Regions from separate parts of the Homo sapiens genome. Here region 2 is linked to region 1. The links are contacts of gene promoters, found by promoter capture Hi-C in human tissues and cell types (Jung and others, 2019). All regions are on one chromosome and are shown on one strand. Each heading gives the region's core, a stretch centred on a gene start or on the middle of the fragment in contact. The rest is flanking DNA. Distances are from core to core; before and after follow the strand shown.

Region 1 (5,956 bases), core at 3,398-5,897:
TCTGGAGGGACCCCTGGATCCTGCCCTCAGGAATCATCCCAGGGACCCCCCCCGTCCCCAGCCACCCAGCAGCTATGTGGTAGTGAGGGAGAGTCAGGGGCAGGTGTCTGCCTTCCCCCATGCCTTCACACTCAGAGGCCACCATTGGAGGGAGGAATAGCGGGTGGGGGTGGCCCTCAGATGTCCCCCCAGGATGCCATGGGTGCCCCCACACTGAGCTCCTTCCTTCCACATCTCCTGCCCAGAGTTGTTCCCTGGAAGGCTGAGCTCTTGCCTCCTCTTGTCCCCATGTCACAGAAGGGCAGCGGCTGGTGTCCCAGGCCACCCTGTCTTGCTGTTTGTTCCTCTAGTCCAAGACCCAGGTGCCTTAGAGGCAGAAGGGGCCTCTTACTCACAGGAAGGGCCCAGGAAAGCAGGGAGGAGGCAGTGTGGAGGGAGCACCAGGAGTTAAGGGAAGGTGGTGTGACCATGAGGGCAGGCAGTGGGTCAAGAGGGAGGGCGGGAGGGCCAGGCCAACGGAGGCCTCAGGAGGATGAGCAGGTGAGAGGAGAGAGATGATGAGGCCAGAGGGAGACCCTCACCTGAGAATCTCCTTTAGCGTGCGGTGCAGGAATGCATAATTTTCATCGAATTTGTACCAAGGCATGAATTGCTGACCTTCATTGTACACAAAGTTTTCCCAGCAGTATGCAAATTCTGAGATGAAGAAGCGGGAAGCAGTCAGGCTCTCCCCTGACCCTGGCCTGTCCTCCCAGGCCTGGTCTCCTGGCTGTCAGTTGCAGTCAGTGCCAGTCCCACCCCTGCAGGCTGCCCTGGGACACCCCCAGCCATGGCATTGCAGATCCATCCATCTTTCATGCTGTTCCTCCCGCTCACGCTCCCCTGACCCCTCCACCTCTCACCTTCATAGTCCATGATCGTCACGCGGGCTCCTGCCTGACTCAGCCTGCAGAGCGCCCTTCGGTAATCTCTTTCCCAGTAGTAGTAGAGGCGGGCGGCAGAGATGGTCAGGGTGACATTGGGGTGCTCAGACAGGAATTCGGCCAGCTTCGCCACACAGTCCGGGCAGGGGGTCCAGGATACAAACCAGGTGATCTGGAAACACTTGTAAGCAGGCAGCTGGTTGCCACAGAACCAAGAGAGGAAGCACATTTCTGCGTGGTACTGAGGCTTGAAATACACCTGGGAGAGGAGCAGGGGGCAGGGGATGCTCTGAGAGGGGGAGCAGGAGGAGTGCAGGGGTGGGGCAGGGAGAGGAGGGGCCAGGACAGGAGCCCAGGGGATCTTGCCATTGAAGCTCCTTTCCTCCATCCCCCCTGTTTAGTTTGAGTGATTGTCTGCTCCAAAGCTCACGTTCAGTGTTAATGGCTATTGTAATGGCCTTAAGAGGTGGCACCTAGAAGAGGCTATGAGGCTGTGGGGACTGCACCTTTGTGGGTGCCACTGCTGTGGTTATTCAAGGGTGACTTCAGCCCCTCTTTCTGTCTCTTGCCCTCTATCTGGAAGGGCAGTGTGTCAGACTAAACTCCTGCTTCCTCTTGTCCCCGTGGCATGGAGCAGCTGTGACTCGACATCCCAGGCCACTCTGTCTGGAGCATCCCCTGAGCTTGTGGCAACAACCTTCACCCTCATGTGACTGTTCAGCTCACAGGCTGAGGCAGGAGAATCACTTGAACCTGGCAGGTGGAAGTTGAGAGTGAGTCATTGCACTCCAGCCCAGGCAACAAAGAGTGAAACTCAGTCTTAAAAAAAAACCAAAACAAAACAAAACAAAAAAACAGAACTGTGGGAAGTGGCCAGGTGCGGTGACTCATGCTTGTAACCCCAGCACTTTGGGAGGCCAAGGCAGGTGACTCACCTGAGGTCAGGAATTCCCCAGCCTGGCCAACATGGTGAAACCCAGTCTCAACTAAAAATAGAAAAAATTAACTGGGCGTGGTGGCAGCCTTCTGTAATCCCAGCTATTCGGGAGGCTAAGGCCGAAGAATCACTTGAACCTGAGAGGTGGAGGTTGTAGTGAGCCAAGATTGTGCAATTGCACTCCAACCTGGGTGCCAGAGCGAGACTCCATCTCGGAAAAAAAAAAAAAAAAAAAAAAGGAAAAAAAGAGAAAAAAGAAATGTGGGAAAAATACACAATTGAGAGCCCAGTGCTGGGCATTTTACTTATTGTTGTGTTTTCTGCATTTCCAGCTGCTTAGGTCCTACTGTAGCAAGGGTTAAAAAGAAAAGAAGAACAAGTTTTCCTCTGCCTAGCCAGCTCACTCCAACGACAGTTATAACACTGCCTGAAAAGTCAAGGCCAAAGGAATGGGCTCCAGACACCACCCCCACACCCCTCCAGGGCAAGGTTGAAGAAAATTTTAAAAAAATTTTTTAAAAAAAAGACAAATTCCTTTACTGTCTCTCCTTTCCAGAACCATTATAACTATATTTTACAAATGTCTGTATTTAGCCAGTTCCTGTTTTCCTTTTGATGTAGCTGCAAGGCCACCAGCTATAGAAGGCCCCAAGTTATGCTAAGTCATCTGTTATGCTATAGATTATGTGACCTGTCACTGTTTGATTAATCGCCTTTGTTCTGCTTCTGTAAGTTTGCTTATAAATACCTCAGTCTGTCTTTGTTAAGGGCTCAGCCTTTTTGGATGTGAGTCTGCTGAACCAGTGCACCTAAATAAATCCTCCTGTCTCACCCATATCAGTCTCTCCAGTCCTCTAATTCCTGCAACACTGCCTGTGATTCGATTGAAGTTTGGGTGGTACCTGGCCTCGAAAGACCCCTGTGTCCCAAAGGAGATTTGAGCGGCCCCTCTTTATTTTCACTTCATAGCACAGCCAAGTGTAGCTCCGACCATAGAGGATGGGTTCGTTTTCAAAGTTGTCGTAGAATGTGTCTCGATACATCCGCTCCATCGGATTTCTGAAGGCACAAGAGAGAAACCGGCCCATGCAGGGAGCCCTCCCGGGAGTCCTCGGGGCTCATGTCCACTGAACACAGCTCCCAGGATGGCCCTGGGCCTCCCCGACCCCTCCACAGCCCTGAGAATTTCTGCTGCCTTCCCAGGCAGGAAGACTGAGGGGAGAGGAAGAGGAGGGGATGCTGGCAGGCGGGCTGGGGTGATCTCTCCCAGCTCGGGTCCAACTCTGGCCTTTCCAGGGGTACATTCCCCACCCTCCTAGTATTTCTGCCAACCCACTCCCCAACCCATTAGGAGAATGCAAAAGAGAATAAAACCCTTCACCCCTAAAAAATAGCTTTTAACCTTTCAGCTCAATTCCTTCCTGATGTTTCACTCTGCGTGTTAACATTATTTTAAAATCATGGTAGAACTGAATTCTGAGGCCCAGGCCACTCTTCTAAGTGCTGAGCGGGTGTGAGCTCACGTGAGGCTACCCTAGGCCTGCAGGGGCCATTCCCATCTTACAGAGGAGATGCCAGAGGCACAGAGAGGCGGGGTAACCTGCCGAGGCCACAGAGCTGGGGACGGATGGAGCAGGGGCCCCTTTCCAGGCCAGCCCTGTCCAGCCTCTGCATCACGGATCCTGTAGGAGAAAGCTGTTGGGGACTGGGCTCTCTTTTCACTAAATTTTAAAATCAGAGCATTTCTCCTCATCATTGCACTTTTTTCCCACATTCTCACATTCCATGTTACTGATCATGTTCTTTCTTTTTTTTTTTGATGAAGTCTCACTCTGTCGCCCAGGCTGGAGTGCAGTGGCATGATCTCAGCTCACTGCAACCTCCACCTCCCAGGTTCAAGCAATTCTCCTGCCTAAACCTCCTGAGTATCTGGGACTAGAGATGCGCCACCATGCCTGGCTAATTTTTGTATGTTTTTTAGTAGAGACGGGGTTTCACCATATGGGCCAGGTTGGTCTCAAACTCCCGACCTCATGATCCGCCCGCCTTGGCCTCCCAAAGTGTTGGGATTACAAGTGTGAGCCACCACGCTCAACCACTGGTCATGTTCTAAAAGATGAAGAGTGACCTTGGAGTGGAACCTGTCTGGGGACATCTGCTCACCATGGAGTCATCCTTGGATGACACGATTTATCATGTGCTTCAGAGACCATTCCTACCCCCGCACCCTCTCCTAAGACTTTGTATTTAAGCAAAGTAATTCTTACAGAAATTTCATCAAAACACTGAGAACAAAAATGCCTGATTGCTCCAATTACCCTTTGGTTCAATTCTCCCAGTTTCTGAGCTCAGGAGTGGCAGGAAGCACACAGAGGGAGCACCCTCCCAGGGCGGGGAGCACCAGTCCGGGCATGACTTTAAGGGAGAGTCTCAGCACGGGGCCTGGGCTGGTGCAGGTAGGGGAGGCAGCCCATTCAGAAGCAGCAGTGGGGTGACCACACAGCAGGACAAAGAGCCTGACTGGGATTCGTGTGGCAGGGGAGCCAGAGGGGAGGGAGCCCAGGGCTGGGGCAGGGGCGGGGGGAGGCCAGGGTTGAGGCCCAGCAGGACCACCAGGCAGGAAGGGGCAGGAGGGGCCCAGCAGGCAGAGTGGGCAGCGGTACCTGATCTGTGGATTCATGTTCAGCCTCTTAGATACGCTTGTCCCTGTCCCGCTCTTTTTTTGAAGCTCTGTGGTTTCACTTCCTGCTTACAGCGTCCTTGCAGTTGGACAGCCCTCCTTAAAGTGACCTCCCAGGGCCTTATGAGTCATGGCCCCTCCCCATTCCTGCTCAGGCATTGGTGTGGGAGGCCCCGGGGTGCTTCATGTTTCTCTGGCTCTGGCTCTGGCTCTGGTTTTCCCCGGACCCTTCCCGCTGGCAGAGGAACCTCCAATAAAGACAGGCTGCTCTGTCTTTATCTGTCCTGGGCAGGACCCAACGGAATTGCAAAGAGAAAGAGAAAGGCATTGCAGCCTGAGCCTGGGAGGCGGGTCCAGACCCAGCTGAGAGAGGGGCAGGTGCCCCGTTGCCTGGTGGTTGGGCAGGCTGGAGCCCCCTCTCCACCACCCCCTCCCCAGCCCTAATGTGTGCCCAGAGCTTTGAGCAGCACCACCCTGTTGAGTGAGGGGAGGTTTTGAGACTCCAGTGGGGAAGGAAGTGTGGACTCCGCACAGCACAAGGGAAGGCTTAGGTGTGCCTCGAGTTCCCAGCTGTGTGCTGGGTCCATGGCATGCGTCCCCTCTTCCAACCTCCCAGCTTCCAGAAGGTGGGGGGCAGGTCAGCCCCTCAGAGGGACTGCGATGTCTGCGACACCAAGGAAGGGAGAAGGGTGTCTATAAACAGGCTCACTGCCCAGGGACCTCTCAAGGGGTTCTTTGTGGGCCAAGAAAACGGGAAACACATACACACACAGCTTTCTGATTATTTAAGTCCATCTAAGCATATTTTGGAGGAATGAATGTACATTGAAATAATCTTCCTAAATAGATTCCTTTAAGGGGAGTTTGTTCCAGCTGGAGAAGTTGTGCTCTCTGTAGAGGCTCTGAACTCCTCTGGCTACGACGACGGGAATGCAGACAGGGAGGAGGATGCGTGGGTGGTAGGGGGAGCAGCAGCGCCCCTACCTGCACAGAAGCTTGTCCAACCTCTGCACAAAGCGGACTCCCAGTGGTTGTTTTTGGAAGGTGAGTTTTCTTTTCTTTCTTTTTTTTTTTTTAAATCTTCCCCAGTATAAATCTTTTAATTTAAAAGTAAATTTTATTGTCGAAAATGCAAACTTGGGGAGGGCAGAAAGATCACACACAGGGCTGTCACTTCACACCTGGGGGGTTGCTGGGAGCCGTCCAGAAGCGCTCCTCACTTCCCAGACGGTGCGGGGGCCGTCCAGAGGCGCTCCTCACTTCCCAGACGGTGCGGGGGCTGGGCAGAGGCGCTCCTTACTTCCCAGACGGTGGGACAGCCAGGCAGAGGCGCTCCTCTGGAAGGTGAAGTTTTCTGTTGCCGTCAGAAAGAGATGGACAAAGGATAAGACCATCGGTGGAAAATAAACAGTTCCG
Region 2 (6,532 bases), core at 1,651-4,150, 160 kb after region 1:
CCAGCCTCTAAGCCTTTACTCCTTCTGTGCCCACCACTTGTTTTGCCTAGCAATGGAATGGTGGATCCATTGTCCTTCCAGACGGGTTTTGACGTGGCTTCTGTTCCCATATCCCCTCTACCTCTGGGCCTCGCAGCCTCTGTACCTCCCATATGCCCTCCGTTATTTTGTCTTATAGCATTGCCCCAAAGTCCTTCCCCTCCTGCAGACTCAGCTCATTTAAGGCGTGGACCAGCTCCACATCCCCAGGATCCACAACAAGGCCAGGCACCACGTAGGCCTCAGAGAATGTTACATTAAATTGTGATCTCAGGCTGGGTAAGGTGGCTCTTGCCTGTAATCCCAGCACTCTGAGAGGCTGAGGTGGGTGGATCATCTGAGGTCAGGAGTTCAAGACCAGGCTGGCCAATATGGTGAAATCCCGCCGTTTCTACTAAAAATACAAAAAAAAAAAAAAAAAAATAGCTGGGCATGGTGGTGCACGCCTGTAATCCCAGCTACTTGGGAGGCTGAGGGAGGAGAATTGCTTGAACCAGGAGATGGAGGCTGTGGTGAGCTGAGATCACACCACTGCACTCTATCCTGGGCAACATAGTGAAATTCCATCTCAAAAAAAAAAATGTGACCTCAGGAAACTTACCAGATGAGGAAGCCCTTTGGGAGCACCAAATCCACAGACAGCAAGCACCTTTCATCTTACAGGCCAGCTCTAACCCATCAGCAGTGGCTTTCCAGAGCACTGTGCTGAGGGATCTGAGCTAAATCGAGGCTCGTGATTGATTGGCTATGTCTGCCCTGGGTGGAGGAAGATTTGCCATCCCTTGCAGACTTGTCATCCCTTGTCTGACCTCACTTTACAGATAAGGAAACTGAGGCCCAGGGAGGAAGGAGCAGCCTCCCCAGATCACACAGGGGTTGGTGGCAGAGCCAGGGCCAGATGCTGGAGCCTGGCCTCTGAGTCCAAGGCTCATTCTATCCCTGCCAGTACTTCTTGAGCCCTAGCTGTGTGCTGAGTGCTGTGTGAGGTGTTCAGGGGAAGTTGGGATTATGAGACATCCCTCTCTCCCCAAGTGACCTTAATAGGCCTGTTGGAGAGTGAGTGAACTACCTTGTGACAACTGAAAACCAAAACCAGAGAGTCCCTTGTGATCTGGTTTGGTCTTTGAGGAAAGAGGAGACAGGAGTCAGGGAAAGACACTGGGCAGGAGGATGGAGAGGGTCAGGCCTGGGGTCGGGCCCTGGAAGGATGGACATGGGTCTCCCCAGCCCCACCCCACTGCCTCAGCCATGGGCCTTGGGCCTTGGGGCACCTCTGACCTGGGGTTGGGGGACCTGTGTCCAGGTGGCCCAGCTGCCCCTGAGCCTGAAGGACAATGGCTGGCACCACATCTGCATCGCCTGGACCACAAGGGATGGCCTATGGTCTGCCTACCAGGACGGGGAGCTGCAGGGCTCCGGTGAGAACCTGGCTGCCTGGCACCCCATCAAGCCTCATGGGATCCTTATCTTGGGCCAGGAGCAGGTAAGGCTCAGGCTGATATTGGGGCTGGACCTCCTAATTGTGCAGATGGGCAGACTGAGGGCCAGAGAGATCAGAGACCTGCCCAAGGAACTAGAATCTTGAAGGTGGGGCTAGAGCGTTGGCGGTGGGGCTTCAGTGGGGTTGAAGGTGGGGCTGCCTCGGGGACAAGAGCCTGACTGAGCCAGCCTGCCTGTCTTTTCTGCTCCCTCACTCCATGCCTCTCCTTTCTCTGCTGCTGTCTTGGCCCAGGATACCCTGGGTGGCCGGTTTGATGCCACCCAGGCCTTTGTCGGTGACATTGCCCAGTTTAACCTGTGGGACCACGCCCTGACACCAGCCCAGGTCCTGGGCATTGCCAACTGCACTGCGCCACTGCTGGGCAACGTCCTTCCCTGGGAAGACAAGTTGGTGGAGGCCTTTGGGGGTGCAACAAAGGCTGCCTTCGATGTCTGCAAGGGGAGGGCCAAGGCATGAGGGGCCACCTCATCCAGGGCCCCTCCCTTGCCTGCCACTTTGGGGACTTGAGGGGGGTCATATTCCCTCCTCAGCCTGCCCACGCACTGGCCTTCCCTCCTGCCCCACTCCTGGCTGTGCCTCCCATTTCCCCTCACCTGTACCCACACCTCCAGAATGCCCTGCCCTGCGAGTGTGTCCCCTGTCCCCACCTGAGTGGGGAGGAGCGTCTCAAGTGAACAGTGGGAGCCTGCCCACCTGGCACTGCACTGGAGTTGTCTCTTACCCCACCCTCCCTGCCCATCAACTGTATCTGATTTCACTAATTTTGACAGCACCCCCAGTAGGGTAGGATTGTGTATGAGGGGGACCCCACTATCTCAGTGGTGGGGGTGGCCGCCCGCCCCCTTGTCCCCCATGCAACAGGCCCAGTGGCTTCCCCTTCAGGGCCACAACAGGCTGTAGAAGGGGATGACGAGGACATCAGAGGTTAGACTTACCCTCCTCCCTCTTTCCACCAGCTGCCAGTCAAGGGCAGTGGGATCTCGATGGAGCCTCCCCCCCCCCCCACCCATGCCTCCCTCTTCCTCCTCTTTCCTCCTCTCTTTGTGTGTAGCGGTTTGAATGTTGGTTCCATGCCTGGCCCAGCCCCACCTCAGTCTCCAGGACATTCCTTTCCCAGCTCCAGCCTGGAGGGAAGGGGACAAAGACCCCAGGAGGCCAAAGGGCTGCAGTCACCCCTTGTGCTCACCCATAGTGATGGCCACTGGTATAGTCATCGCTCTCCCTCCATGCCAAGGACAGGACTTGGACCGCTTCAGCCTGGGCTGGGAGCAGCCCTAAGGTAGAGGCCTCATGGCCCAGGAGACCCCACCTCTGGCAGAGCCACATTACCTACCCTGTGCATGGTCCTGGGGCAGCAAGGAAGAAGCTCAGAGGGTGGGGAGAAGCATGAAGCAGTGAGCAGAGCACTGGGTGAGAGGGAGAAGACCTTGGTTCCTAGCCAGCCCTGCTAATGTGCTGTGTGGCCTTCTGTAAGTCCCTGCCCTCTCTGGGCCTGGCCTTCCTCATTCGTGAGCTGAGGCCCTCGCTTTGGTCATTTGCTCTCCAGATTGGGTGTGAGCTTCTCTGTGATTCCAGGTGGATATGTGGGGAAAGCTCTGGTGACCCTGGGCTTCGCAGGGGTAGATCCCAGGACTCGGCAGTGGATGGGATGCAGCCAGTCATGGGTTAGGGTCAGCAGAGACTCAGAGTCCAGGGCAAGGTTCAAGGCAGACTAACCTCATGCATGGATTGTAAAAAACCAGCTCCCTTTGGATCAACCCAGCCTGGCACCCTTGCCTGTCTGAGAGTGTCTCAAAGGGCTGATGGCTTCCTGGTCCCCTTGAGTCATCACCAGCTTCCCCAAGAGAGTGTCAGAATCTTAAGAGCTGAGAGGCCGGGCACGGTGGCTCACGCCTGTAATCCCAGCACTTTGGGAGGCTGAGACAGGCAGATCACTTGAGGTCAGGAGTTCGAAGTCAGCCTGGCCAACGTGGTGAAACCCCATCTTCACTAAAAATACAAAACTTAGCTGGTTAGGTGGTGCATGCCTGTAGTCCCAGCTACTCGGGAGGCCGAGGCAGAAGAATCTCTTGAACTGAGGAGGTGGAGGTTGCAGTGAGCCGAGATCACGCCATTGCACTCCAGCCTGGGCAACAGAGCAAGACTCCATCTCAAAAAAATAATAATAATCTTAAAGATGAGAAAAGCCACCCCATCTGGCACCACAGCTGCATCTTGCTTGTGAGAAATGGGGAAGAGTTCAGGGAGGACACGTGACCTGCACAGGATCACAGAGCATGGGGCAGAGCCAGGACTAGAGCTCAGGGCATCTGACTCCCTCTTCAGTGTTCTTCCCCCTCCATGTTGCCTGCCCCTGAAGACCTTTGAGTTCAGTCTACACCTAAGCAGGTAGACATCCGCGAGGTCAGATGCTTTCCAACATGACACCTGAACATCTTCCTTTATGCAACACCCAAACATCTTGGCATCCCCACCCCAGGAAGTGCGGGGAGGAGGTTATGATCCCTGGGCGCTTCGGCAGAATGGAGAGCTGAGGTGTCCCTCCCCTGCTAGTCACCTACCAGGTGTCTGAGCAGCTGCATGCTCCCTGGCTCAAGTGGGCACTGTACCTTTTGCCTGCCTTTTTGTTCCCTATCTCCACTCCCTGAGGCCACTTAGCCTGAGACATGATGCAAGAGCTGCAGGCCGGGGGGCTCAGTGCCATGGAAGCTACTCCAAGTTGCATTGCCTCCCGCGCCCAGATCCTGCTTTCCATTTCGAGAACATAAATAGATTGCCCAGCCCCTCCAGTACAATCCCACTGGAAGAAAAGGCAATGGCGGGCTTCAGCCAGACCTGCTGAGACCTAGGTTGCCACGGTAACAGCCAAAGACATCAACCCAAGTGCTGGGTCAAGTGTCTCATCATACTGGCACTGTTGCTGGGGTGACGGCAGAATTCAGAACTTCAATTTCAGTGACGCCAAGCTTGATGTGTTTCTGTTATTGTTTTGAAGAAGGTAGCTCTTGTGGAGGACTTGGGAGAAGGATGGGGTCTTAGGAAGGAGGTGACAGCACTTGCATGGTCACTTGAGCCCACACACACGCTCAACCCCAAGTCCTTTATGCTTTGTCACAGTGAAGATGAGACCTCTGACGTCCAAGCCTTGTTCCTGTGCTGCATCACCCACTCAGCCTTCCAAAGGGAACAGGAACAAATTTCCCCAGCACCACTGTTTGGGTCCCGCTTTTCCTATCTTCTGCTGCCCCTGAGCACATCCAAGCAGACAGGGAAAGAGGAGTCAGACATGGCCCAGTCACATCCTGAGCTGCTCCTGGCTGATAACCACGATGGAGCCCGTGTTTGTCCTGCCATCTGGCACTGCACTGAGTGTGGCACAGGCACCGTCCTGTTGATCTCACAACACAGTTCTAAGTTAGGACGTTCTTGGCTCCGTTAGACAGGTGAGGAAACTGGGGCACAGAGAGGTGATGTCATCTGCCTGGTGTCAATCAGCTAGCAAGTGATGGAGCCCAGATTTCAAACCAAAGGGGGTTACGTCCAGGGGCTGAGTTCCCACTCACCTGTGTAGAGTGCCATCTGGGCACCATTGCTCCAGACGTGTTCCGACCCCTTTCCCAGCCCACAGGGCTTGAAGTGAAGGAACAGAGGCAGGGGGTGGGCCAGCCCCAGGGCCAGGGTCCCCTTGGTGAAGCCGTGCCAGGGGGCTCAGCTGCTTCAGGGAATGTGTCCCTCCCACCATGGGCCAGAGCTTCAGCCCTTCTTTAGCTCAGCTAGAGTTCACAGGAGAGCCAAAAAAGAAAAGGAAGCTGAGCATCTCCCGAGTCCTGGGCAGGGAAGGGGAGGGAAATTGCTGCTTCTCCAACTCTTGCTTGGGGCCAAGCCCTGCACCAGTTGCTTCCCAGCTGTTATCTGCCAGATCTTCCCATCTTGTGGCATGTGGTGCCCCCACCAACATCCCAAGGGGACCAATCCCCTTGCCACCACTTTGCATCACCTGGGACCACAGATTTGGACAGGAAGGGCTCTGAGAAGAGGCCAAAGCCCTCATTTTACAGATGAGGAAGCTGAAGCCCGGGGAGGGGAGCGACCCTCAAGGCCACCCAGCTGGACACGGGAGACTTGAGCCCAGCCTTCTGACTGCATTCAGCCCTCTCTAGGACGCAGCAGCCTCTCCCCAGCACTGAGTCCCCCCTCCTTTGTGTGTCCCAGCACCCTTGGCCTGAGTAAACTTGGAAAGGGGCTCCCTCCCAGAGAAGGGACTACTCTCTTCACCCCTTTATTCCAGCTGCCTGCCACCCCAGACCCCCACCTCCCACCCTGACCCCCGACCCCTGGGTGGGGAAGGGGCTCACATGGGCCCAGGCTGAGTGTGAGTGAGCATGTCAAGTTGTCTGACACTGTGACATTAGTGCACCCTACTGACAACCCCTCCCCAGCCTTGCCCCTTTCTCCTCTCCCTGTTTTGTACATAAATTGACATGAGCTGCAACATGTGTGCGTGTGTGTGCGTGTGTGTGTGTGTGTATGTGTGTGTGATCTGTGTCATGGTTTTGTTACCTTTTTGTTTTTGTAAACTTGAATGTTCAAAATAAACATGCTGTTTACTCTGAGGCTCTTCTTTGCAGGGATGGGGCTGCCCTAGGGGGTGCTGGGCAGGAAGGAGGGGGCTGCTTTGGACAGGGCCACAGGGAAGCGCAGAGGAGACGCCTGATCCTGGACAGCCCCAGGGCCACACACGCTCCTAAATATGCCCCCCAGCTGACAAGTTCTCCCTGTTCCAGGCTTAGACACACCCCATTTCCCAGGATTTATGCAGGAAGGATGTAAAGAACCCAAGTCCCACATGGAACGTGTCCCAGTTCTGATAACTGGGCTTCGGCCTCATTCCCAATACCCCGTCCACATCTTGTGCTCTAGTTCAGGGATCCGGGTCCCTGACTTGTTTCCTGGGACCTAGTCTGTCCCAGTCACTTGCCTGGACCCCCAGAG

What was found. Contacts are between HindIII fragments. The study calls those that stand out against the background at their distance.
Region 2: a fragment that was not itself captured here is called in contact with the fragment with the promoter of APOBEC3B in region 1 in 2 of the 25 tissues and cell types used here (lymphoblastoid cells and spleen).

The regions. Positions count from the first base shown.
Region 1 is chr22:38,981,038-38,986,993 of GRCh38, reverse strand. APOBEC3B (apolipoprotein B mRNA editing enzyme catalytic subunit 3B) reads right to left here and starts at 4,647. Exons shown (of 8, transcript NM_004900.5): 1 at 4,524-4,647; 2 at 2,763-2,919; 3 at 903-1,182; 4 at 582-696. The coding sequence starts at 4,540. RefSeq lists silencers at 304-499, 4,464-4,513 and enhancers at 1,734-2,023, 1,066-2,265. The HindIII fragment of the contact is 18,696 bases long and covers 1-5,956 here.
Region 2 is chr22:38,818,073-38,824,604 of GRCh38, reverse strand. NPTXR (neuronal pentraxin receptor) reads left to right here. Exons shown (of 5, transcript NM_014293.4): 4 at 1,343-1,522; 5 at 1,772-6,153. The coding sequence ends at 1,996. Among named protein-coding and RNA genes, the nearest start is that of NPTXR, 23 kb to the left of the region's middle. The HindIII fragment of the contact is 5,623 bases long and covers 89-5,711 here.